4 separate regions of the Homo sapiens genome follow, and regions 1, 2 and 4 are each linked to region 3. Evidence: promoter capture Hi-C in 16 types of primary human blood cells and fetal thymus (Javierre and others, 2016). All regions are on one chromosome and are shown on one strand. Each heading gives the region's core, a stretch centred on a gene start or on the middle of the fragment in contact. The rest is flanking DNA. Distances are from core to core; before and after follow the strand shown.

The links. Contacts are between HindIII fragments. The CHiCAGO score rates a contact against its expected background, and 5 or more counts as called.
Region 1: a contact is called between a fragment that was not itself captured here and the fragment with the promoter of ACSL6 in region 3, in 5 of 17 cell types (naive B cells, naive CD8 T cells, total CD4 T cells and 2 more). The highest score is 6.6, in naive B cells.
Region 2: a contact is called between a fragment that was not itself captured here and the fragment with the promoter of ACSL6 in region 3, in 7 of 17 cell types (M2 macrophages, M0 macrophages, M1 macrophages and 4 more). The highest score is 7.4, in M2 macrophages.
Region 4: a fragment that was not itself captured here is called in contact with the fragment with the promoter of ACSL6 in region 3 in 7 of 17 cell types (activated CD4 T cells, total CD4 T cells, non-activated CD4 T cells and 4 more); the score reaches 7.5 in activated CD4 T cells.

What each region holds. Positions count from the first base shown.
Region 1 is chr5:131,516,263-131,522,248 of GRCh38, forward strand. RAPGEF6 (Rap guanine nucleotide exchange factor 6) reads right to left here. Exons shown (of 28, transcript NM_016340.6): 7 at 5,128-5,259. Among named protein-coding and RNA genes, the nearest start is that of RAPGEF6, 120 kb to the right of the region's middle. The HindIII fragment of the contact is 5,323 bases long and covers 1-4,994 here.
Region 2 is chr5:131,748,439-131,753,852 of GRCh38, forward strand. All of the region lies in intron 1 of FNIP1 (folliculin interacting protein 1), which reads right to left. Among named protein-coding and RNA genes, the nearest start is that of FNIP1, 46 kb to the right of the region's middle. The HindIII fragment of the contact is 2,448 bases long and covers 595-3,042 here.
Region 3 is chr5:132,009,818-132,015,730 of GRCh38, forward strand. ACSL6 (acyl-CoA synthetase long chain family member 6) reads right to left here and starts at 1,841. Exons shown (of 21, transcript NM_001009185.3): 1 at 1,688-1,841. The coding sequence starts at 1,736. LOC124901062 (a long non-coding RNA gene) reads left to right here and starts at 1,639. Exons shown (of 2, transcript XR_007058933.1): 1 at 1,639-1,728; 2 at 5,587-5,712. The HindIII fragment of the contact is 2,609 bases long and covers 718-3,326 here.
Region 4 is chr5:131,498,573-131,504,299 of GRCh38, forward strand. It overlaps RAPGEF6 (Rap guanine nucleotide exchange factor 6), which reads right to left. Exons shown (of 28, transcript NM_016340.6): 12 at 1-35. Among named protein-coding and RNA genes, the nearest start is that of RAPGEF6, 130 kb to the right of the region's middle. The HindIII fragment of the contact is 4,437 bases long and covers 470-4,906 here.

The sequences.
Region 1 (5,986 bases), core at 1,083-3,582, 490 kb before region 3:
TAGTAGAGATGGGGTTTTGCTATGTTAGCCAGGCTGGTCTCAAACTCCTGACCTCAAGTGATCCACCGAACCCAGCCTCAGATGATATTCTTAACAGAAATATTAAAGAAAGGTGTAAGAGAACATGTGGTGACTTGAGTTGACAAAAGAACATACTGGTGAAAACGTGGCACCAGAGTTCTGAAGAGATTGGCACTCCGAGCTGTGCATTAGGAAATCATGTTGCCATAGAGGTGGTAACTGAAGTCTTGGGATTTTTAAGAACACGCTTACTGCCTATATAGAAACTGAAAAGGTAGGTGGTGGATAAATGTGTGTCTGGAGTTGTTTAAGAATGAGTTAACAAAAAGACAACATGCTTTTGTTCAAGAGTCAATATTTCACAGTTTTCCAGCTCATGGAAAAGACTGAAATAAATAGAAAAAGGAATCTAGAAAGAAGTACTCCTTATTCTCTTGAATACTCTTTGAAGATGCAGAAAATATTCTATCTAAGAACACTCTTACACCTTAATGTATACTTTAAAATTTTAATCTATGCTGATTAGAAACACATTCACACTGGAATCATTGATTTGCCTTTTTTTCCCTCCACACTATAGTACATGCTATATTTTGAAGTTTCTTTGAGGGCCAAGGGCTTTTATTTTTAGACCAGAAGACATGAAAACTCTCAAGAAGGAAATGCATAGAAGTGTAGCCACACATTTGGCCATATAAAACAGTGTAAACAGTTTTCCTGTTAAGAACTGCTGTCAGGAAAACCAAATCCCGCATGTTCTTACTTATAAGTGGGCGCTAACAATTGGGTACACATGGACCTAAAGATAGGAACACCAGACACTGGGGTCTATTAGGGCAGGGAGAGAGGGGCAAGGGCTGAAAAACCACCGAATGGGTATTATGCTCACTATCTGGGTGATGGGATCATTCGAACCCCAAACACTCAGCACCACGCAATATACTATGTAAGAAATCTGCACATGTACCCCCCTGCATCTAAAATAAAAGTTGAAATTATTTTTAAAAATTGGGGAGACATCCATTTTTCTGGATAAGAAGACTCCACGTTAGAAAAAAATGCCCAAATTAATCTATATATAGTCTTCTGCCCCACAAAAAAAGCTGGATTTCACTTGAAACGTTTCTAAATTTCTAGAAGAATAAAAGCAGAAACACTAAAAAAAAATTGCTGTTAGGATATCTTCCCCTCAACTGTCCAAATTAAAAATACTTCTATCATTTCACAAGGCTTTTCTTATGGTGTTAAAGGCTAGGTGTTCACTTAAAAAATCTCTCAAATGCTAAAATTCAAATAACTAGACAAATCACTTCAGCTATCCCAGGCTAAGATACATACATTGGCAATGTACACCTGTAACTAAGGGGTATATTCATAGCTCCAAAAGGGAATCTAAAGGCAGCCTAAGGTGAAAGGAAAGATCAAGGGTCCAGTACTGATATTTAATTCTTCTCCTTGTTTATTCCCGAGGATCTGATTGGAAACATTCGCGCATGTACACACACACACACACACACACACACACACACACACACACACAAAATTTAGTTAGACATTTCTCTTACCCATGGATTAAAATTATAGAAATCTTGTACTTTGGAGGGTATATCTTATCAATCTATTATAATTCTGTGTTTATTCCTTTTACTCTCCTTTAAATATTTTCCAATTTTTTTTTCAACTTTTAACTATACAATCTATTTACGTCCTCCTTAATATTTGTTAAATAAATAAAAATGTTCGTTTAAGAAACATAATAAAAACTACCCACAAACCCACCACTAGTAGAAAAACACTGTTACTAACTGGTGTTCTTGAACTCGGATTTACATTCTGTATCTACAAGTATAACATATTTAAGTATACAGGTATATATATTTATTTAACGAAATATAAATAAAATGTTAAAAATACCTACTTATCTCATAGATATGATATATAAGATTTTATACATATGAGATATAAAAAATATATAAGTATGTAGGTGTATATTTTTATGATTTTGATTTTTTTCCTTTTGTGTTTATCTTTATTGGCTTCTTTTTATTTTGGCGTTTATGCTGTTTCTATCTTTTGGCTATGGTCCTAAAGTTAACTGTTATGTCAGAGTTTGAAATTTTTTTTTTTTTTGGAGACGGAGTTTCACTCTTGTTGCCCAGGCTGGAGTGCAATGGCGTGATCTTGGGTCACCGCAACCTCCGCCTCCTGGGTTCAAGTGATTCTCCTGCCTCAGCCTCCTGAGTAGCTGGGATTACAGGCATGCTCCATCACCCCAGCTAATTTTTTATTTTTAGTAGAGAGAGGGTTTCTCCATGTTGATCAGGCTGGTCTTGAACTCCCGACCTCAGGTGATCCGCCCACCTCTGCCTCCCAAAGTGCTGGGACTGCAGGCTTGAGCCACTGTGCCCAGCAGCAGAGTTTGAAAATTTTTATCTTCTTTGACTACTCTTAAAAAATTTTATCTTAGGTTTTATATATTTGATGTTAACATTATTATAAGTTTCTTCTTTAAATTTCTTCATTCCTATTTTGGTTCTAGAGTTTTATCTTATTTATTTTATCTTTATTCCTTTTATCTTTTCATGCTCTCTAAATTCATTCCCACTTTTATTGGTTAATTTATAAGTTTCATTGCATCATATTTTTTTAAACTATATGATTCCATTTATATGACCTTCTGGAAAAGGCAAAACTATAAGGTCAGAAAAGAGATTGGTGGTTGCCAGGGCATAGGATAGGGGTCAGGAGAAGGTACTTGACTGCAAAGGGTCATATGGATACTTTCTGAGGTGATGGAAATATTCTACATATTGATATAGGCTATGCCATGGTCCTGCAATAGAACACCTCCAACCAACACCAGCAGGTGTACTCCAGTCTCATCCTCAGGTTGTCCAGCTAAAAGGGGAGTAATCTGCAGGTGCTAATATAAGTGCAATGCTCCTATAGGAGCTCCTGTAGTATCTTTGCAAAGATGTAGGGACCAACTGTGTACAGTCCATCTTCTAGTTCACAATAAAGCATTGGTCTTTCCAAGTGACCTTGAATCTTAATCTGTGCACTATCCTGGCTTAGAGATGTGGATATCCCAGTGATACCAGGTTCTTATAGTTTTTCTTGTCTTTTCTTCTTTTTTGAGACAGAGTCTTGCTCTGTCGGCCAGGCTGGAGTGCAGTGGCATGCTCTTGGCTTGCTGCAACCTCCGCCTCCTGGGCTCAAGCAATTCTCCTTACTCAGCCTCCCAAGTAGCTGAGATTACAGATGTGTGCCACCACGCCCAGCTAATTTTTGAATTTTTCGTAGAGACAGGGTTTCACCATGTTGGTCATGCTGGTCTTGAACTCCTAACCTCAGGTAATCCGCCCGCCTAGGCCTCCCATCCTATAGTTTTTCAACACTAAACCTCTGTGTATAGTCTTAGAAAAGTCCAGATATTCTCACATGTCCTGAGAGAAATCTACAGCCACATCCCTGAATTTCACTGATCCAGGGTCAATCTTCCTCAGTGTTTTCTTCTGGAAAAACACAGTCTACTTTGATTTTTAGGTGTGCAACAATTCTTCTTTCACAAGATAATTCTTTTGGGGAGGGGCAGAAAGCATGAAGCCCAATAGGTACACAAGTACTAAGTGGTGCCAGAGCTATTGTATTAACTTGTTTCATCTCTCTTTTAATTCTTTGTTCTCTCTACTATAAAATGGAGAACAGGGAAAAATTCCTTGTTCTGTATACTGTAAAAAGCAAACAGGGAGATATAGATGACCACAGCAATTACCTTTGTTGAGAAAAGCCACATATAAACCAAAAAATGGGTATTGTCTTTGTTCCATTTTGCATCTGCCTACAAACTTCCCTGAATAGAAGAAGGCTATTTTCCTAAAATATCTCAATCTGGGTAACTTTGTAGAACCAGTCTAAAATGCTTTCCTCAGACAATGATACTATTTCTACAATTCTTAGTATATGGTAGCCACTAGCCGTATGTGGTTATTAGGCACTTAAAACATGGCTAGTCCAAATTGAGATGTGCTGTAACTTTAAATTAAACTCTGTTTTTTGATGACTTAATATGCAAAAGTAATGTAAGGTAACTCATGCATAATGTTAAAACATTAAATACATGTTGTAATTATAGTATTTGGTTATACTGCACTAAATAAAATATATTACTAAAATGAATTTTACCTGTTTCCTTTTATATTTTTTAATGTGGCTACTAGAAAATTTAAAATTAAATACGTGGCTCACATTAAATTTCTATTTGACAGTTCTGAAATAGGTAATATATTTGAATTCCTTAACAAACCAACCCTCAATATCATGCATCCTCTTGTTATTTTATTTAAACTGTTTTATGTTCTATACTCATGATCTCTGACAAAATCAACCACTGGGCTCCACACCCAGGGAACTGCTCCTTACAACTTGCATTAAAGAAGACATCATAGAAGTTCCACTATCTGGATCCTGAAATACTTATTACCCTGGCTTGAACCTAACTTGGGTTCAATCTCAGCAGGATCATGTGAGGATTCTCTCAGTTTATGGGTCTTCCTAGAACCTTCTCCCCAATATTACAATGATCACTGAAAAGCTCAGTAGGTTTGAAATTGTTCCTCTTGGGTTTTAGAAAATGGAAAAGTCCATCAATATTCTCACTAATTTGCTATTTAATTCACGCTAGACTACAACAGAGGCTTTATGGTAGAAAAGCAGCTCTAATTTTCTTCATGACTTCTAACTACAGAAGACATATACAGTCAATTATAACAAAAATCAGCCTTTTTATAAGTTTAAGTTCAGTTATTCCAAGAACTAATTTTTTAACCAAAACAAGCATTAGATATTAATATGGATTCACCTGGATAAATGAAAGAGAACACTAGATTCATACTCTGCTGAACCATACTTAATCATTCTCAAAAGACAGATCACGTCTTTAATCATGCTTACAAATTTGACACAGTATATAAAGCTTATTTTTCTAAAGACCTTACGCTTGAATTTCATACTCTAAAAGATATGTTAACCATCTAAGGCACAATCACAGAATATCTGGCAAATAAAAAAACCATATACGCAGCATACAAATTCCTAAGGTATTACCTGATAGATATCAGATAAACTGCTGCTTCCAGAGTCACTGGCAATGCTACAACCAGACTGACTAGAAGACACATGAGTCACCTGTGGATGAGGGTTTTCTGTGAGATGCATCTTGGTAAGATCAGCTGGAAGCTGAAAAAAAAAATAATTTAAGTTATTCTAAATGTCAAGCTTTACCTTTTTAAGCGGTTTCGACATGTTCAACAAATTTTTATGTACATTACTGTGCAATCTCTTTTTTAACCCAAGTTCTCTACTTTCAGCAAAAAGATCTTTTGAAATAAGAACCATATGGTACTCTCTGAAACTATTAGACAATCCTACAATGGTAAGCTCACTGAACAGTTTTCAAAAGCCATTACTAATGATATTTCAGAGGAAAAACTTGGCCCTTCTATCCTCCCAAATAAAAATATCAGACCTGTCCATTTAAGGGTAGGAATGTTACCCTACACACACACACACACACACACACACACACACACACACACACACACACACACTCTCTCTCTCTCTCACACACACACTCACTCTCCCTCCCTCCCTCCTAATAAAAAATGGTGACTGATACAAGAATAAAACAGCAATATCTTGGAATCAAGTTCAGCTACTGGCAGCAAGACTTAAGACCAGTAACAAGTTGATTACATTAAATATTCCAAAAATTCTGTGAGCATCTTTACACTTAATATTGAATTAGCTTCTAGTTGGCCCCTGAGAGATTTCTTAGTAATCAACATGATTTAATGAATGTCTGTACTAGGCACAGGTATACAAGAAACACAAAAAGTAAATGACTCCACCACCTCATCTTTAATATGGTCGCATTCTTACCAGGTATGCAGGCTGTACAATATAT
Region 2 (5,414 bases), core at 569-3,068, 260 kb before region 3:
ATCCCAGCACTTTGGGAGGCTGAGGTGGGCAGATCACAAGGTCAGGAGATTGAGACCATCCTGACTAACATGGTGAAACCCTGTCTCTACTAAAAGTACAAAACAAAAATTAGCCAGGCGTGGTGGCATGCACCTGTAGTCCCAGCTACTCAGGAGGCTGAGGCAGGAGAATCTCTTGAACCCAGGAAGCAGAGGTTGCAGTGAGCCAAGATTGCGCCACTGCACTCCAGCCTGGGCGACAGAGTGAGACTCTGTCTCAAAAAAAAAAAAGAAAAAAAAAAAAAAAGACTATGTTACTGGTTTATGAATTTACTATACTTTTATCATTATTTTAAAGTGTACCCCTACTTATAAAAAAATTAACTGTAAAACAGCCTTAAGCAGATCCTTCAGGAGGTATTCCAGAAAAAGGCATTATTAGCATAAGAGATGACAGTTCCATGTGTGTTATTACTCCTAAAGACCTTACAGTGGGACAAGATGTGGAGATGGAAGATAGTGGTACTGATAATCCTGACTCTATGTAGGCCTACGTTAATGGTGTGTTTGTGTCTCAGTTTTTAACAAAAAGGTTAAAAAAATTTAACTGAAAAAAGCTTAGAATAAGCACATAAAGAAAGAAAATATGTTTGTACAGCTGTACAATGTTTGTGTCCTAAACAAAGTGTTACTACACAACAGTTCAAAAGATTTTAAAATTAAAAAGTTAATAAGGAAAAAACTTACAATAAGCTAAGGTTAATTTTATTATTGAAGAAAAACATTTTTAATAAATTTAATGTAGCCTAAGTATACAGTGCTTATTTATAAAACCTACAGTAGTGTACAACACTGTCCTAGGTTTTCACAGTCACTGACTACTCACTCACTGACTCACCCAGTAACTTCCAGTCTCGCAAAATCCATTCACAGTAAGTGAATGGATCGCCCTATATAAGTGTACCACTTTTTATCTTTTTTTTTTTTTTTTTTGAGATGCAGTCTCAGTCTATCGTCCAGGCTGAAGTGCAGTGGTGCGATTTTGGCTCACTGCAACCTCCGCTTCCGGGTTCAAGTGATTCTCCTGCCTCAGCCTCCCCAGTTGCTGGGTTTACAGGCGTGTGCCATCATGCCTGGCTAATTTTTATATTTTTAGTAGACATGTGGTTCCACCATGTTGGCCAGGTTTGTCTCAAACTCCTGACCTCAGGTGATCCGCCTGCCTCGGCCTCCCAAAGTGCTGGGATTACAGGTGTGAGCCACTGTGCCCGGCCTACTTTTTATCTTTTATACCATATTTTTGCTGTACCTTTTCTATGTTTGGATATGTTTAGATACACAAATACTTACCATTGTGTTACAACTCCCTACAGTGTTCAGCACAGCAATACGCTGTACAGGTTTGTACCCCAAGAGCAATAGGCTATTATCATACAGCCTAGGTGTGTAGTAGACTATACCATCTAGTGTGTGTAAGTACACTGTGTGATGTTTGCATAACAACAAAATTGCCTAACAATGCATTCCTCAGAACAGAGCCCCATCATTCACTGGTGCATGAGTGTATGTTGAATAGAAAACATAAGATTTCCAGGCAATGCTGTACATCTACATAACGTTGAAGACTATGAACTAGGACGATGTACTGGCTGCAAACTACAGTTAGGTGATTTTCTCCAGTAGGACCTCATGTGCTTGAATTTGGATCAGACTGTGCCAAGGTAAGGGTTTTGATAGGTATACGGAACAAAAGAAAAGGAAGGCTATGGAAATGGAGTATAAGACTGACAAGAATACAGCTGAATTGATCTAAGCTAGTTAGGGAACGTAGTGATGGGACAACAATAACAAAAGAAAATGGAGGCAGTACGGTCAAAGTGCTGAAAAAACGCAAAGAAGGAGAGTGGGAGGCAGAGAGGACAAGGAATAGGAGGCTATAATCACAGGGCAGGATCCTAGAGTTTAAGATATTAGAGGTAGAATAGCTCATTTAATCATTAAATACAGATATGTACCTACTATGTGCCAAGCAGTGGTTAGGGCAAGATAAAAAAGAACCTCTCTGGAAGAAAGATACAACAGTAGCTAAGCAAAGAAATAAATTAACTTGATAACTTCAGGTAAGTCAATAGACTATGATAGAAGGTGGTAGTGAGAGAATGGTTTGGGTTGAGGGGAGGTATATTCTTCCCTTCTTTCTTTTTTTTTTTTTTTAGACAGAGTCTCTCTCTGTCTCTCAGGCTGGGGTGCAGTAGCATGATCTCGGCTCACTGCAACTTCTGCCTCCTGAGCTTGAGAGACTCTTGTGCCCCAGCCTCCCAATTAGCTGAGATTACAGGTATGTGCCACCACGCCCAGCTAGTTTTTGTACTTTTAGTAGAAATAGGGTTTTGCCATGTTGGCCAGGCTGGTCTCAAACTCCTGGCCTCAAGTAATCTGCTGGGATTACAGGTAGCACGAGCTACCACACCTGGCCAATACATTCATTTTTTAAAAGGTGCCTAATATGGACAAAATTTTCTGGAGAAAATGAAAAGTTGGGCTTCACTGGATATGTGGTCTTCTAACAGACCTTATATAAGCAGTGATGCCATTTCATTTAGCCAAACTCCTTTGGTCTCCCAGACACCCAAAGAATAAAATCCAAGTTCCTTTGCTTAGATGTAAAGCTCTTCATGGGCTGGCCCAGATCTGCCTTTCCAGACTCTTTTCATGTTACCCATAATTATCATACTGAGCTTCTCAAAGGTGCCAAGATATATCAATTCCATGCCTTTGTACAAGCCATGTCTTCTACCTGAAATATTCTCACTCTCCTGGCAAACTCTTATTTATTCTTAAAGATCTAGCTCCAAATGTCACCTACTCTAAAAAGTTCTTATTCATTCCTCCAAGCAGAGTTAGCTACTGAGTTTTGGGATTACACTTTACCTTAGATTATAAATCTAATAGTATCTTCATCAGATTGTCTTGTAATTTATCTGTTCACATGCCTGTTTCTTCCACTAGAAAAAAAAAGCTCCCTGAGGGAAGATCTTATTCATCTTTGAATCCCCAGTCCCAAGCTTGGTAAATGAGTAAAACTACATATCCCTAAGTAAATGTAATATCATAGGCACTAAATATTTCAGGAGTGAATGGATTCCACAATCTGAAAAAAAAAAAAAGAAGAAGAAAAAACAAATGTGCTTTCTTTAAAAAGTTAAAAGGCATGTCCATGAACTCATGAATAAACAAAATGTGGTATGTCAATACAATGGAGTATTTGGCCATAAAAAGAATGCATACTACATGGGTGAACCTTGAAAACATTAGGTTAAGGAAAAAAAGCCAAACACAAAAAGGCTACGTATGATGATTCCATTTACATGACTTGTCCAGAATAGGCAAATCCATAATGACTGCAATGTGTACGAGGTTTCTTTCTGGGGAGATGAAATGTTCTGGAATTAGACAGTGGTGATGGTCACCAAAAAACTTTGTAAATATACCACAAACAAAAACAGCAACAACCAAACCAACCTAAAACACTGAATCACGCACTTTAGAAGAGTAGATTTTATGGAATGTGAAGTATATCTCAGCAATAATAAAAAAGGCTTTATTACCAAACTTATTTGTGAGTTTGTATTCTTTTTTTTTGGAGACAAGAGTTTCGCTCTGTTGCACAGGCTGGAGTGCAGTGGCGCGATCTTGGCTCACTGCAAGCTCCGCCTCTCCGGTTCGCGCCATTCTCCTGCCTCAGCCTCCCGAGTAGCTGGGACTACAGGTGCCAGCCACCACGTCCGGCTAATTTTTTGTATTTTTAGTAGAGACAGGGTTTCACCTTGTTAGCCAGGATGGTCTTCATCTCCTGACCTCATGATCTGCCTGCCTCGGCCTCCCAAAGTGCTGGGATTACAGGTGTGAGCCACCGCGCCCAGCCATGAATTTGTATTCTTTGTTAATTTAAAATAGGACTTTATGAAAAAGGTAAAATTATAAAGCTTCTATAAAGAAACACAGGTGATTATGCCACCTTAGGTTAGGCAAAGAGTTCTTAAACAAGATACAAAAATTACTATGCATAAAATAAAAAATTGGTAAGTTGGACTTTATAAAAATTTTAAACCTGAACATCTAAAAAAAAAAAAAAAGACCAGTCCAGAGATTGGAAGACAATATTTGCAATGCACATATCTGATAAAAACTTATAAACAGCCAAAACAACCCCCACAAAGCAGTAAGCAATAAACAATCCAATTTTAAAAGGGTACAGGTACAACTTGGGCATTTCACAAAAGGAGATATATGAATGGATAATCAGTATGTGGAAATGATAATTAACAGTGTTAATCATCAGAGAAATGCAAATTAAAACATGGCCACGGCCGGGCGCGGTGGCTCACGCCTGTAATCCCAGCACTTTGGGAGGCCAAGGCAGGTGGGTCACCTGAGGTCAAGAGTTCAAGACCAGTCTGACCTACATGGGAGAAATCCCAACTCTACTAAAAAAAAATATAAAATTAGCCAGGTGTGGTGGTGCATGCCTGTAATCCCAGCTACTTGGGAGGCTGAGGCAGGAGAATTGCTTGAACTCGGGAGGTGGAGGTTGCAGTGAGCCACGATTGCATCACTGCACTCCAGCCTGGGCAACAAGAGTGAAACATCGTTTCAAAACAAAACAAAAACATACAAACAAACAAAAAAAATGGCCACAAGCATTAAAATGGCTAAAACTGACACGACTAATAACACCAGTGGTTGGTAATAATATGAAGCCCTTGGAACTCCCATACATTGTTAGTAGGAGTGTAAAAGTGTACAACCATTTTTGGAATATTGCTTGACAGCTATGATTCAGCAATTCCTCTCACAGGAAATTTATCCAATAAAAATGAAAATAAATGTTCACAAATACTCTCACAGAAATGTTCACTGCAGTTTTATTTAAACCCAAATGCCACAGAGAATGGATAAACAAACTACGATATATTCCTACATTGAAATACTACTCAGAAATACCAAGGAATGAATTACTGATCCCACGGTAACAAAGATGAACTCAAAAAATACTGTTGCATGAAAGAATCCAGACACAATGGGGCACCTACTGATAATTCTATTTATGTGTAGAAGAGGTAAAACTAATGGACAATGATAGAAATCAAAGCAGTGATCAGGGATAGGGAGTGAGGGAAATGGAGGAGAAATGTATACTAAGGAACTTTCCAGAGTGATCAAAATGTCCTTTATCTTTATTGCCATTGTGGTTAAGTAGATGCATATATTTTTCAAAATAAATTATACATTTTATTATATGCAAATTATAGCTCAATTTTTAAAAGAGAAAGACTACTAAAAAAAGTAATACTATATTCATCAAGTTACATTACATTATGGACATCTCATTAAAACAGATTTTTTTTTTTTTTTGAGACAGAGTCTCGCTCTGT
Region 3 (5,913 bases), core at 591-3,090:
ACTTTTTCTCACAGGCTGCTGATGACCCCGGTCACAAGTGGTCTTGCAGCCCCTAGACACCTCCCTGCAGCCACAGAAGATCAAGTCTTCAGAGAGCTGACCTTGGACCCATGGTTGGGTGGGGCCTCCTGAGGGTAGGGCAAAGGGGTCCTGGCAGTGGGGAGAGGCTCTGAGACCATCCATCACTCAGGCATTAAATGGTGGCTGTTACGACCACCATCACCATTATTTTAATTATCCTTGCCCTTTACCTCCAACCCCAGCTCTAGCCCTGCCCTTGTCTGCTGGATGTGCCTCAGGACCAGAGTGCCCCTGCACAGCCAGTCACAGACACTGGCAGACAGAAGGAGCTTAGGGAGCTGAGGGGATTAGGGAGGCTTCACTCACTCTCCCAGCTCAGGGGAAGTGTCCCTGTGGCCTAACTTAAGGAAATGGTGGGGGTGAAGGAAGTGATTACTAGGCCCACCAACCCTCCAGGTTCAGGCCTGATCCAGCCAAGCACTTAGCATTGGTTGATCAATTAAAACCTCGAATGGAATCCCAGTCTGCCAAATATCCATGTGACACTAGGCAAGTCAATTGACCTCTGAACTCAGTAAAAAAAGGGATGGTGCCACCGACCTCCTAGGGTTTTCCATGAATATTAAATAACACGTACAAAGCCTCAGGTAAAGATTTCAAGAGGGTCAACTTCCTCCCCTTCCTTGGCTCAGAAAAAGCTTTATTACCACTTCTGATGGTGCTGTTTGAATGTGAGATAATAATAAACACTAACATTCATAGAGCATTTGCTGTGGCCTAGGACAGGTTTAAGGCCAATTTAAGGATCAAGCACTGCACACAAATTATCAGGCTGAATCTGCACATGGGGGTTGGGGTGGAGGTGGAGATCCTTTAGTGGTATTATACTCTGGAGGACCCCAGGCTCAGAGAGGGGAAGTAGCCGGTGCAGGTGGTAGAACTGGCAGATAAAAGGGCCTGTGGTGAGACTCCAGGTGTGGGTGTATGGGGGGTTGAGGGAGGTAAGCGCGGAGGCGGGATCGAGCAGGGGTCCTTGTAGCCGCCTAAGAAGTGCAGTGGTGAAGCTGACTCCTGTGAGGTGGAGGGGAGGGGTCTGGAAACAGTGGAGACACAGCAGCCCTGGGCAGAGCAGAGGAGCCAGGTGAACCCTACCTTACAGAAATCTTGTACTCTGGCTGAAGGACGGGCAGGGAGGGGTCGTGAGGAAGCCCCTCGCCGGGATCAGGAAGCCTAGGTCAGTCCGGGTTACATAGCTGACCTGCTGTGGGACCTCGGGGACCAACACCCTCGGTTTCTGGTCCCAGGAGATGGACAAGGACGCAATGTCTGTTCCTGGCCTTGGCTCAGGGCCTAATCTGATCCGCGGATGGTCCTTGCCATCAGGGAAGGGGGACGCAAGAACTCGGCGGGGGTTTGTGGTGGGGTCGCAGAGAGCAAGCCCTATATCTCCCTCCGCAGACCCAGGTGCTCCCCAAACCCGGCCCGGAGCCCGCGAGAACTGGGGGCGGAGGGTGTACTTAGGCGGCCCTGGGGACCTTGACGGGACAGCTCAGCAGCAGGGGATGGGGGCTCGGCGGCCGCGGAGATGTAACACCTCCACCTCGGGCGAAGACCTCATAGCCTGCGGGAGATGGGAGTCCGGGACGCGGACAGGACGGGCACTTACCTACGAATAGCCAGAGGGAGCCCCCCGACACGAGGAAGAAGGTCAGCATGGCGGTCAGCGGGGCCCGGCCCGGCCCGGCCCGGCCTCCCCGACCCGCAGCCCCGCAGCCCCGCAGCCCAGCAGCCCCAGCAGTAGCCGCGCCGCCGCCGCCGCTGCCGGGTATTTTTAGCCCCCGCCCTCCGGCCCCGCAGCTCCCGCCTCCCCGCGCCGCTGCGGAGACGGCTCAAGGGGGAGGGCGCGGCGCGCACTCGCAACCGAGCCTTACTCCCTGCCCTGCAGCCTGGCCGGCCGGGTCTGGGGCTTGCCCCGCACTGACCGCGGTGTCGGAACCGCCAAGCTCCCGGGCGGGGGAGGGGCCCGGCCGCAGAGCGAACCAGCCCTCTCCGGCCCCGCTCTCCAACGTCAGTACCTGGCATTCTGCGGAAACCGGCTGGAAGGGGGAGCACGGGCGACGAGCGCCAGAGCGTGACATTGAGCCCACCCCGCCGCCACCCACCCCATCAACACGCGACCCTGCCCCCGCGCGACTCGCAGCCTGGGTTTTATGGCTGGGCAGGCTCGAATGGCAGCCGGGTCGCGGTTACCTGTCCTAGGAGGTGCACACTCCTGTGGGCTGTTGCCCGCTGACACCAACGCCCCCTAGGACCCGAGTTTGCAGACATGGGGAGCCTCCGGGTGCCACCTCTGCAAACCAGTGAGGGGAGGGAGTGGCAAGTGTTCACCTAGGCTCTGACAAATCAGGCAGCTAGACCAGATAGTGCCCAGATCATCTGGGGACGCACGAGTTCAGGTCTGAGGCTACGCAAGGTCACAGGAGACTCAGTGTGATCACAGGCTGCCATATGTGTTCACCAGTAGTAACATGGTCACAGGCAGCCACATGGAATCACAGGTGTCTCATGAGGAAATCATGATCTTCGTACACAACTGTATGTGGCACACGAGGTCTCAAGAAGCCCCTCATAGCCACAATAAATGGCCATATAGCCACACACAGCCACAGATGCCCACACTGCTGGGCTGAGGGCTTGGACACCTGTTGCAGTGTCTGCCATTGAAAGGAGGAAGCCCAGTTGCACATTTTCTGAAATAATAAGGGTAGGCATCCTGGTGGGCACCCCATGAACATCTGCACCTCCAAGCAAGATCACCTCTTCCCAATGCCCTTGCTTGTTTTCCTCAAGCATGCAGAGCCCACCAGGACTCCAGCACCGAGGACAGCGCTCAGGCAGCCGGGCCTTCTCTATACGCAGCCCTCCCAGGCCAGGAGCTGGCTGAGCCACAGCCCAGAAAGAAGAGGATAGAAAACCAGAGAGCAGAAGTCAGGAAGCAGAGAGTGGAAGAGCATGAGATCTCTTCAGGCCCACCAGAGACCATCAGCCATGAGTGCATGTGGGCTCACAGCTCAGCAGCTGGGTGTGTGGGGGGGCCTGTATCTGTAGTACGAGTACATGGCATGTGTGTGCCCAGGCCTGTGTGCACCTTGTAGTGGTGCAAGTGTGCAGATGTGTGCCTCTGAGTCACTTCCAATCTTTACAATAGGATCCTACACCTTCTCCATCATAGGATCTGGACTCCTGGGAGAGCTGCTCCAGCTTGAACTCAGCCACAGCCTGGCAGGGACTTTGCTGGGATCTCAAGCTTGGCAGGGCTCCTCCAAGAGGGTGTGACAGAGGCTGTATGGCAGGACTCCTCCCAGCAAGTAACATGGCTTTGAGAATCCCCCCACCCCACCCATACACTCCCACTGGCAGCAGAGTAACTGGAGATCTGCTAGTACTGAAGAGGAGACCCAGGGGAACCAGAAGCCTGGGCAGAAAGAACATATCTCCCCAGACCAGATTGGTCTAGGGAGGTGGTCAGGTAATTTCCCCATAGGCCAGTGGTTCAACAGAGCATTTCTTCACAGAGCAGGGGGCCAGGAGCCAGGCTGCAAGCCTCAGGCCTCTGCGGCACTCAGCTGCAGGAGCACTCCGGGCCCTATGCGGCTCTGGCAGCCTCCTCTTCAGAGTGATGTCATGGGACACATTTAGCTTGGCCTCCAGCAGGATGTCGCATCCCGTTACTCTCCCTACAGATGTCTCTGCTACTTGTGAATATTTTAATTCAAAAACCAGTACTGGAGCTGTGACTGATTCTAGCTTAGCCAAGTATTTTTCTGTTTTCCTCTGAGCATGGCTTGGCTTCCCCTGAGAGATGGGGACAGAAAGGCCCTAGCCTGGTTGTGGGATCATGGCCAGGTCTCTCTCCTCTCTAGGCCTGTTCCTTCCACTGAGTAATGGGACTTGTTCTTTCCTGTCCTGAGTTCCCAAGGTCTTCTTCCTTCTCTGTGAGTCTCAATCTGTGGACCATCTGCAGGCATGGGTAGACGCTGTGACTCAGGCCCTAGACTGCATGGGTGTGGCATCCATGGAACCCAGGGCCCAGAAATGCCCAGGCCAGGCTGGGGAGCCCTTGGATATCCCTCTTGGTCCTTAGCCAGCAAATCCAGCCACCTTAGCGGCCAGCCATGTTCACACATATCTCCTCCCAGACTAGCATCTCTAAGTGGGTTGGCAGGCAGGAGCCTAATCATCTATTTGCAGCCCTGGCTTGGGGTCTGGCCCAAAGAATGCAGAGGATATTATCCCATTTGACAGAGCAGAAGACTGACGTTGGGAAAGGCGAACAACTGTCTTAGGTCACACAGCAGTTCTGGGCTCCTGACTCCCATTTATTCATTTTTCATTCATTCTCTCCTACATTTTGATAGTTTCCCAAGTTGCAAGTGTCTCCGGTAGAATCCAGAAAACTCACTTTTCCAGCTTCCTTTGCAGCTAGGAGTGGATTAGTGACTTAGACTGTACCAATGAAACACACTCTCATGAGCCTTCGATAAAAAAGCCAGAAATGAGTGAAAGAAAGTCATGCACATGGCATCTACGTTGCTGGCACAAGGGTGGTAACAGAAGCCATGGATGGTGGATGATTCTGGGAGTCATTTCAGAAACTGAAATTTGAGCCTGTTTCTTGAAGTGCCCCAAAAGTTGAGCCTTTTAGAAGTGAACATGTTCTTTAATGTACTCTTTTTCTGATTAAAACAGTCAGTCCAGACTTTGTTTAGTCAGTTTGGAGCCAAGAACTCAAACTGATCCACTCACCATCCCACTGCTGAAGGTCTTTCCTGCCCTCCAGAGGGTGTGGATATGGGGCTGGCACACAGCATGATGCATCCTCTGTCCCCATTACTGCATCTCCTAGTGGAAGCTCTGACTGATGGGGCTGGGTGGGCTGAGCCAGGTCTTTGCTTCTCTGTATTCTGACAACCACATATTTGGAGACCTGAACCAAAAACTTGAAACTCAACAAAGAATCCACTAAGGATAACTACCCAATCTGGAGCAAAGGCTTTTAACACATGATATAATGGTTGGGGAGCTGCAAACAATATTCAACCATGTCTTTTACTGAGTAGTGGTGTTTTTTCCCCCTCAGATTAGTAAAATTGTTCAACATAGAAATTTTGGAAAATATAGAAAAGTATAAGATAAAATCACTTGTAATTTCATCCCCCAATGAGAATGCAATAATAACTAATGCAGTTCTGTATATTTTCTAACAACAATAATAATATCCAACATTTACACAGGGCTTAGTATGAGCCAGACATTATTTCTAAGCACTTTACGTATGTGTTATGGACCGAATTGTGTCCCCCACATCCCAGTTCATATATGGAAGCTCTAACCTTCAATGTGACTGTATTTAGAGACAGGGTCTTTAAGGTAAGTAAGGATAAATGAGGTCATAAGGGTGGAGCACTAATCCAATAGGACTAGTGTCCTTATAAGAAGAGTAACATCAGGAATAAAGACCTGAACTTTATTGCGAGAAAGTTTATTGTGATAACTTTATTGCAGAGAGAAGGCAGTCATCTTTAAGACAAGGAGAGGTCTTGCAGACCAGACACCAACTCTACCATCACCTTGACCTTGGATTTCCAGCCTCCAGAATCATAAGTAAATAAAATTCTGTTGTTTAAGCTACCAAGTTTGTGGTATTTTTGTTATGGCAGCTCCAGCAGCCTAATACAATATGCTAACTTGTTTAATCTTTACATCAACCCTGTCTTTTCCCCATGTGTAGTGCAGTTCAAGAAATACTTGTTGAATGAATAAATGAATGATGGATATTGTTTATTCAGTATCTTATGTTGCCCCCTTTTTTTTTTTGGAGAGTGCAGTGGC
Region 4 (5,727 bases), core at 1,438-3,937, 510 kb before region 3:
TCTATTAAATGCATTATGAGACGCTCAGGTGTTGCCTAAAAATCCAAGGATAGGAAGGATTAGAAAATAAACAAATGACCCAAGAACCAAAGAACTATTGTTGATTACTCCGCTTTGTAGCTACTCCATTAGACAAATCGTCAAAGTACAGTTTCGCCTTTAAATCCTTAGCGCTGGGAGAATTGGAATGCAAACTTAATTGTAATCCACCAGCACCCAGAGGTTGAGAGACAGAAAAGGCAGAGAAATAAATAGCCAACAGCACTCACTCAGCTGAAGCTGTTTTCACTGGCATTTCATCATAGCAGGACCTTTGAACTTCACTAACTTAGCCCTGGTGTGGGCTGTTACTGCCACTTCTCCTACAACCAGGGCATGTATTTATTGTCTCAAGGCAACAAAAGAGGTGAAAGTTAAACTAAAGAAAGAAAGAAAAAGAAAGGAATGAAAGGGAAGAAAGAAAAAAGAAAGCTTTTCTCCAAATTTAATCCACCTCAAAAATCTTTTCTGACCAGGCTGTAGGAAGAACACACCAGTTCAAGAGAGCCTGTTTCATTATTGTTACTTCCCAGAATAAATATTTCCTTTTCTACAGTTCCTCTCATACAGTTTCCTCTCCATGCTAGGTCACCATATTGAGAGGAACCAGAAGTTCTACAGACAGTTTTGAAATTAATTCAGAGTTTTAAATGCTTGTTTCCAACTTTATAAAAGAATATAAACAGGCTGGGCGTGGTGTGGCTCATGCCTGTAATCCCAGCACTTTGGGAGGCCAAGGAGAGCAGAACACCTGAGGTCCACAGTTCAAGACCAGCCTGGCCAACATGGTGAAACCCCGTCTCTACTAAAAATACAAAAATTGGCTGGGTGTGGTGGCCGGCGCCTATAATCCCAGCTACTCAGGAGGGTGAGGCAGCAGAATTGCTTGAACCCGGGAGGTGGAGGTTGCAGAGAGCGGAGATCATGCCACTGCACTCCAGCTGGGGCGACAAGAGCGAGACTTTGTCTCAAAAAAAAAAAAAAAAAAAAAAGAATATAAACAAAAATTTCCATACTGCTCTTCTTTGAGCTTCTGAACCAATGTTTATTACCCTTTGTAGCTTTTTCAAAGGTTGGTACAAGAACAAATACAGAAACAAACAAGATGTTAAGCCTGATATAAAAACTGTTATCCATAACACCCAACCTTCAATTTGTTGCAGTCATCCAAACAATTTCATTGTTTAGAATAACTGTGTGGTAAACATACATTAATACTAACAATGTTCTTTATCTAAGAATCTATTAAAAATAAAAAGGTACTTTATTTATTAAAAGGTACTTTATTTTTATTTATTTATTTTTGAGACGGAGTCTGGCTCTGTCGCCCAGGCTGGAGTGCCGCTGCGCGATCTCAGCTCACTGCAACTTCCGCCTCCTGGGTTCAAGCAATTCTCCTGCCTCAGCCTCCTGAGTAGCTGCAATTACAGGCATGCACCACTATGCCCAGCTAATTTTTGTATTTTTAGTAGAGACGGGGTTTCACCATGTTGGTCAGGCTGGTCTCGAACTCTTGACCTCGTGATCCATCCTCCATGGCCTCCCAAAGTACTGGGATTACAGGCGTGAGCCACTGTGCCTGGCCCTATTTTATTAATTAAAAATAAGGTACGAAAATCGTTTCTCTAGAAGGAACTCAGAAACAACCTCCTTAAGAGATAAGAAAATCATAGGTCATTCCTATTCTCCTATCCTCCAAAACATTCTAAGCCTAAGAGTACCAAATTGTTTTATTACTCAGGCCAATCCTGGTTTAGGGTCATTTAGGTTCACTTAATTCCATTTCCTAGAATAGCTGAGTGAGGGATGGGAACTGTTCAACATGTTAGGCCATTATTCTGACTGGCAAAATCACAGAGGCAGGGTCCCTATAGAGACTAGGTCATGCATTCTAAATTTTATTTAAAGATGAGCCCTTACCTCTTTAGACTAAAATCTATCTTACCTCAAAATGCCCTTGATCCCAGCCACACAAATTTCCTGCTTTTTCTTAAATATATTATGCAATTTTATATAGCACATGCATATGTCTCTGTCTGGCCACCCTTCCTCCCTATATCTTCTTGCTATTTCTTCTAGCCTAATTTAGATCCCTCTTTTTATGTCTCTCTTGCTCTTCCATCTTAAGATTTATCAAGTCATGCTGAAACTATCGCCTTGTCTTTCTCAAAAGACTGTGAGTTCACTGATAGCAGAATCTAAGTATATATTAGTATCTCCCAGATCTCACACAGGGCCTGGCATAGAGTACCATAAAGTCAGTGTTGTTGAATAAATGAAGAAATGAACTGAATGAAGAAATGAATGAAATGAAAAGTAGTAACTGCTTTCTGTGTGATTATGTGTAAACAGAAAGTCAAGGCCAGGTGCGGTGGCTCACACCTGTAATCCCAGCACTTCTGGAGCCCACCTTGGCCTCCCAAAGTGCTGGGATTACATGTCTGAGGCACCATGCTTGGCCTTGACCTGAGGATCACTTGAGGTCAGGAGTTAGAGATCAGCCCGGCCAAATGGCCAAAATGGCAAAACCCCACCTCTACTAAAAATACAAAAACAAACAAACAAACAAACAAAAAAAGCTGTGAGTGATGGCATGCACCTGTAGTCACAGCTACCTAGGAGGCTGAGGCACAAGAGTTGCCTGAACCCAGGAGGCAGAGGTTGCAGTGAGCCAAGATCGTGCCACTGCACTCCAGCCTGGGTGACAGAGTGAGACTTTGTCTCCAAAAAAAAAAAAAAAATCAAATGATCAATCCTTCTATGAGCAAAAGATGGTTATGATTTGCAATTAAATCTCAATGTGAAGATTGTAGTACAGTAAAAATAACATATTTTCAATATTTATGTCACAAAAGCAACCCATCAGCATGCAATCAGAATCTGGAAACATTTTAAGGTGTGTATAAACTCACGGCAAATTTATGTTCAAGTATTTTTGATGTTCTGAACTTTCACTTAAAAAAATCAACACAGTGTTTAAAATCTATTGTAAAATATATTAGAAGGTGGGATGCTGGGAGACAGGGTGCACAGAGGTAGCAAGCAGAAGAGATGGCTGGTGTTGTTATACTGGCATGGTAGAAACTGCTTACAATGAGCAAATAATATACAGAGTATAACAAGAGGCATTGTTGGAGAAGGTATTTACAAATATAGAAGGGAATAGACTAGGGAAAACTGTGGTGCTGGTACTGGAACTGGAGGTACAGGTAGTAGTGGAATTGTAACTCATGGTTGTTTAATATATATATAAAGTTATAGATGTGTATGTGTTTATAACAAATACATACATATATTTCCTAGCTCTGATGAAAGACTCTAAAAGCAATGACACTTCAGTAACAATGAATAAAGATTCAGGGTCTTCTTGAGAAATGGCTAATTCCAGAGCTGGTACAGTTAAGTTCACGATGAGCCTTATTATTTGCCAGATTATACGGATGTGCTCAAATGATGGGGATATGTCAAAAAATACAGGTGTCAGTTTAAGAGTCCCACTACCTAAAACCTGGGACAATTTGAGGATCAGAATAAGAATGATGGTAACATAAGTTTATACCAATATAAATAAATTAATGAAGACAAGACAGTTCATTCCTTCAATACAATGAGTTAATAAATGCATGAGAAATTATTTTTAAAATCACCATTTCAGACAAGAATAGTAATGGAAGTAAAAAGTGCCGAATAGAAGTTTGTATTCAGTGCATACTATACATAAACTAAAAGTCTGAGGATAGTATTTTGATACTGTCAGAACATCTCTCCACCAAATATTTATCAGTTACAAAGGGTAAAATGATGACTTTACACTGAAGAAACTGGGCAGACAGACACCAACATGATCAGTAATCATGGCTAACTTCACCATTGGTAGGACAACAGGTTGACATTGTGTGCCCTCTGAGTTTTGTGAACTCCTGCCAGGAAAGCATGACTTGAATCTATCTGGTCATGAGGAAATACTGGAAAGATCCAGGTGGAGGGTAATACTACAGGATGTATGATCTGTATTCTTTAAAACTGCTAAGGATATTAACAACAGTGAAGGACTGAGGAACTGGTACAGACTGAAGTGACATGACAACTAAATGCAACTGTGTTCTTGGACAACACTCTAGACCAGAAGTAAGTTATTATTGGGATAGCTGGTGAAAATCTAAATAGGGTTTCTGGACTGAATCTGTTTTTGTTTGTTTGTTTTTGAGACGGAGTCTCACTCTGTCGCCCAGGCTGGAGTGCAATGGTGTGATCTCGGCTCACTGCAACCTCCGCCTCCTGGGTCCAGGCAATTCTCCTGCTTCAGCCTCCCGAGTAGCTGGGATTGATTACAGGCGGCCACCACCATGCCTAGCTAATTTTTGTATTTTTAGTAGAAATAGGGTTTCACCATGTTGGCCAGGCTGGTCTCGAACTCCTGACCTCAAATGATCTGTCTACCTTGGCCTCCCAAAGTGCTGGGATTACAGGCATGAGCCACCATGCCCGGCCCTGAATGGTTTTATTTTAGCAATGTTCACTTCCTAACTTGAAGGATTCTATGGTGTTTATGTCAGAGAGTGTCCTTGTTTTTAGGAAATACACAATAAGATATTTAGGAGTGATGAGGCATCACATTTGCAGACTGCTCTCAAATCGTTCAGAAAAAAGACTAATAGAGCAAATGCAGTGAAAATATTAACAGTTGAGGAATCAGTGACAGATCTCTCTACTGTTCTTGCAACTTTTCTATAAAGTTTGAAATTATTTAGAAATAAATTACTAAAACACATGAGTCCTCACAAAAAGATAAAAATGAATTAAAATGAAAAAGTATATGTGTAAGCCTATGGCATTCCACCAGTATGTTAATCATTTCTACACACAAAGCTTACACTCATCTGTTTAGGAAAAGAAAGATCTCTGAGGAATAGCCTGACTCTAAGGGAAGAAGAAGTATGACATCAGACTTCAAATTATCTCTCTGATTTAACTCCCTCATATTATTAAGTAAACTGCTTCATCTGCAATTAATAGTGGCAATAATTTCGCCAAGACTAGCTTGAAAAGAGAAACAGTTATGTGTTTATTTCCCCTCTTTCAACTATAATTGTTCAGTTTATATCCAAGTCTTTAAAGAGAAAAGGAGGTGAGAAGGCAAGTATTAGGAGAGGGCAGAACTTACAGAAGGGAAAACAGTATGGGGGTTAATACTCAGACTCTACAATTGTGCTAAGGCTTTTGATTTACCTCATTTAGCCCTAATAAAGTCTTGAATTACCTCCATATCCAGATAAGAAAAGTGAGGTTCAGAGAAGTCAATGCATATTTCAGTGCCACAGAGATCCAGAAGCACTCTGCATCTTAATCTAGGATTACTTATGCTTTTATGACTGGTCCTTAAATTTTCTGTTTTGTTTCTAAATATTGCAGTCTTTGATGAAACTGACTCCCGCTCTCAGTGGCATACAATATTAAGTTTGAAAAGGAAAACTCTGACCAGTATATTCTAAAATAATACCCTACCTACTCTGATATTAAATGGCAATAAGTCATCCTTCATCATTAAAATGTGTAAAAACCATCTTAGAGATCAGGCATGGTGGCTCAAACCTGTAATCCCAGCACTTTGGGAGGCCGAGGTGGGAGGATCACAGGGTCAGGAGTTCAAGACCAGCCTGGCCAAGATGGTGAAACCTCGCCTCTACT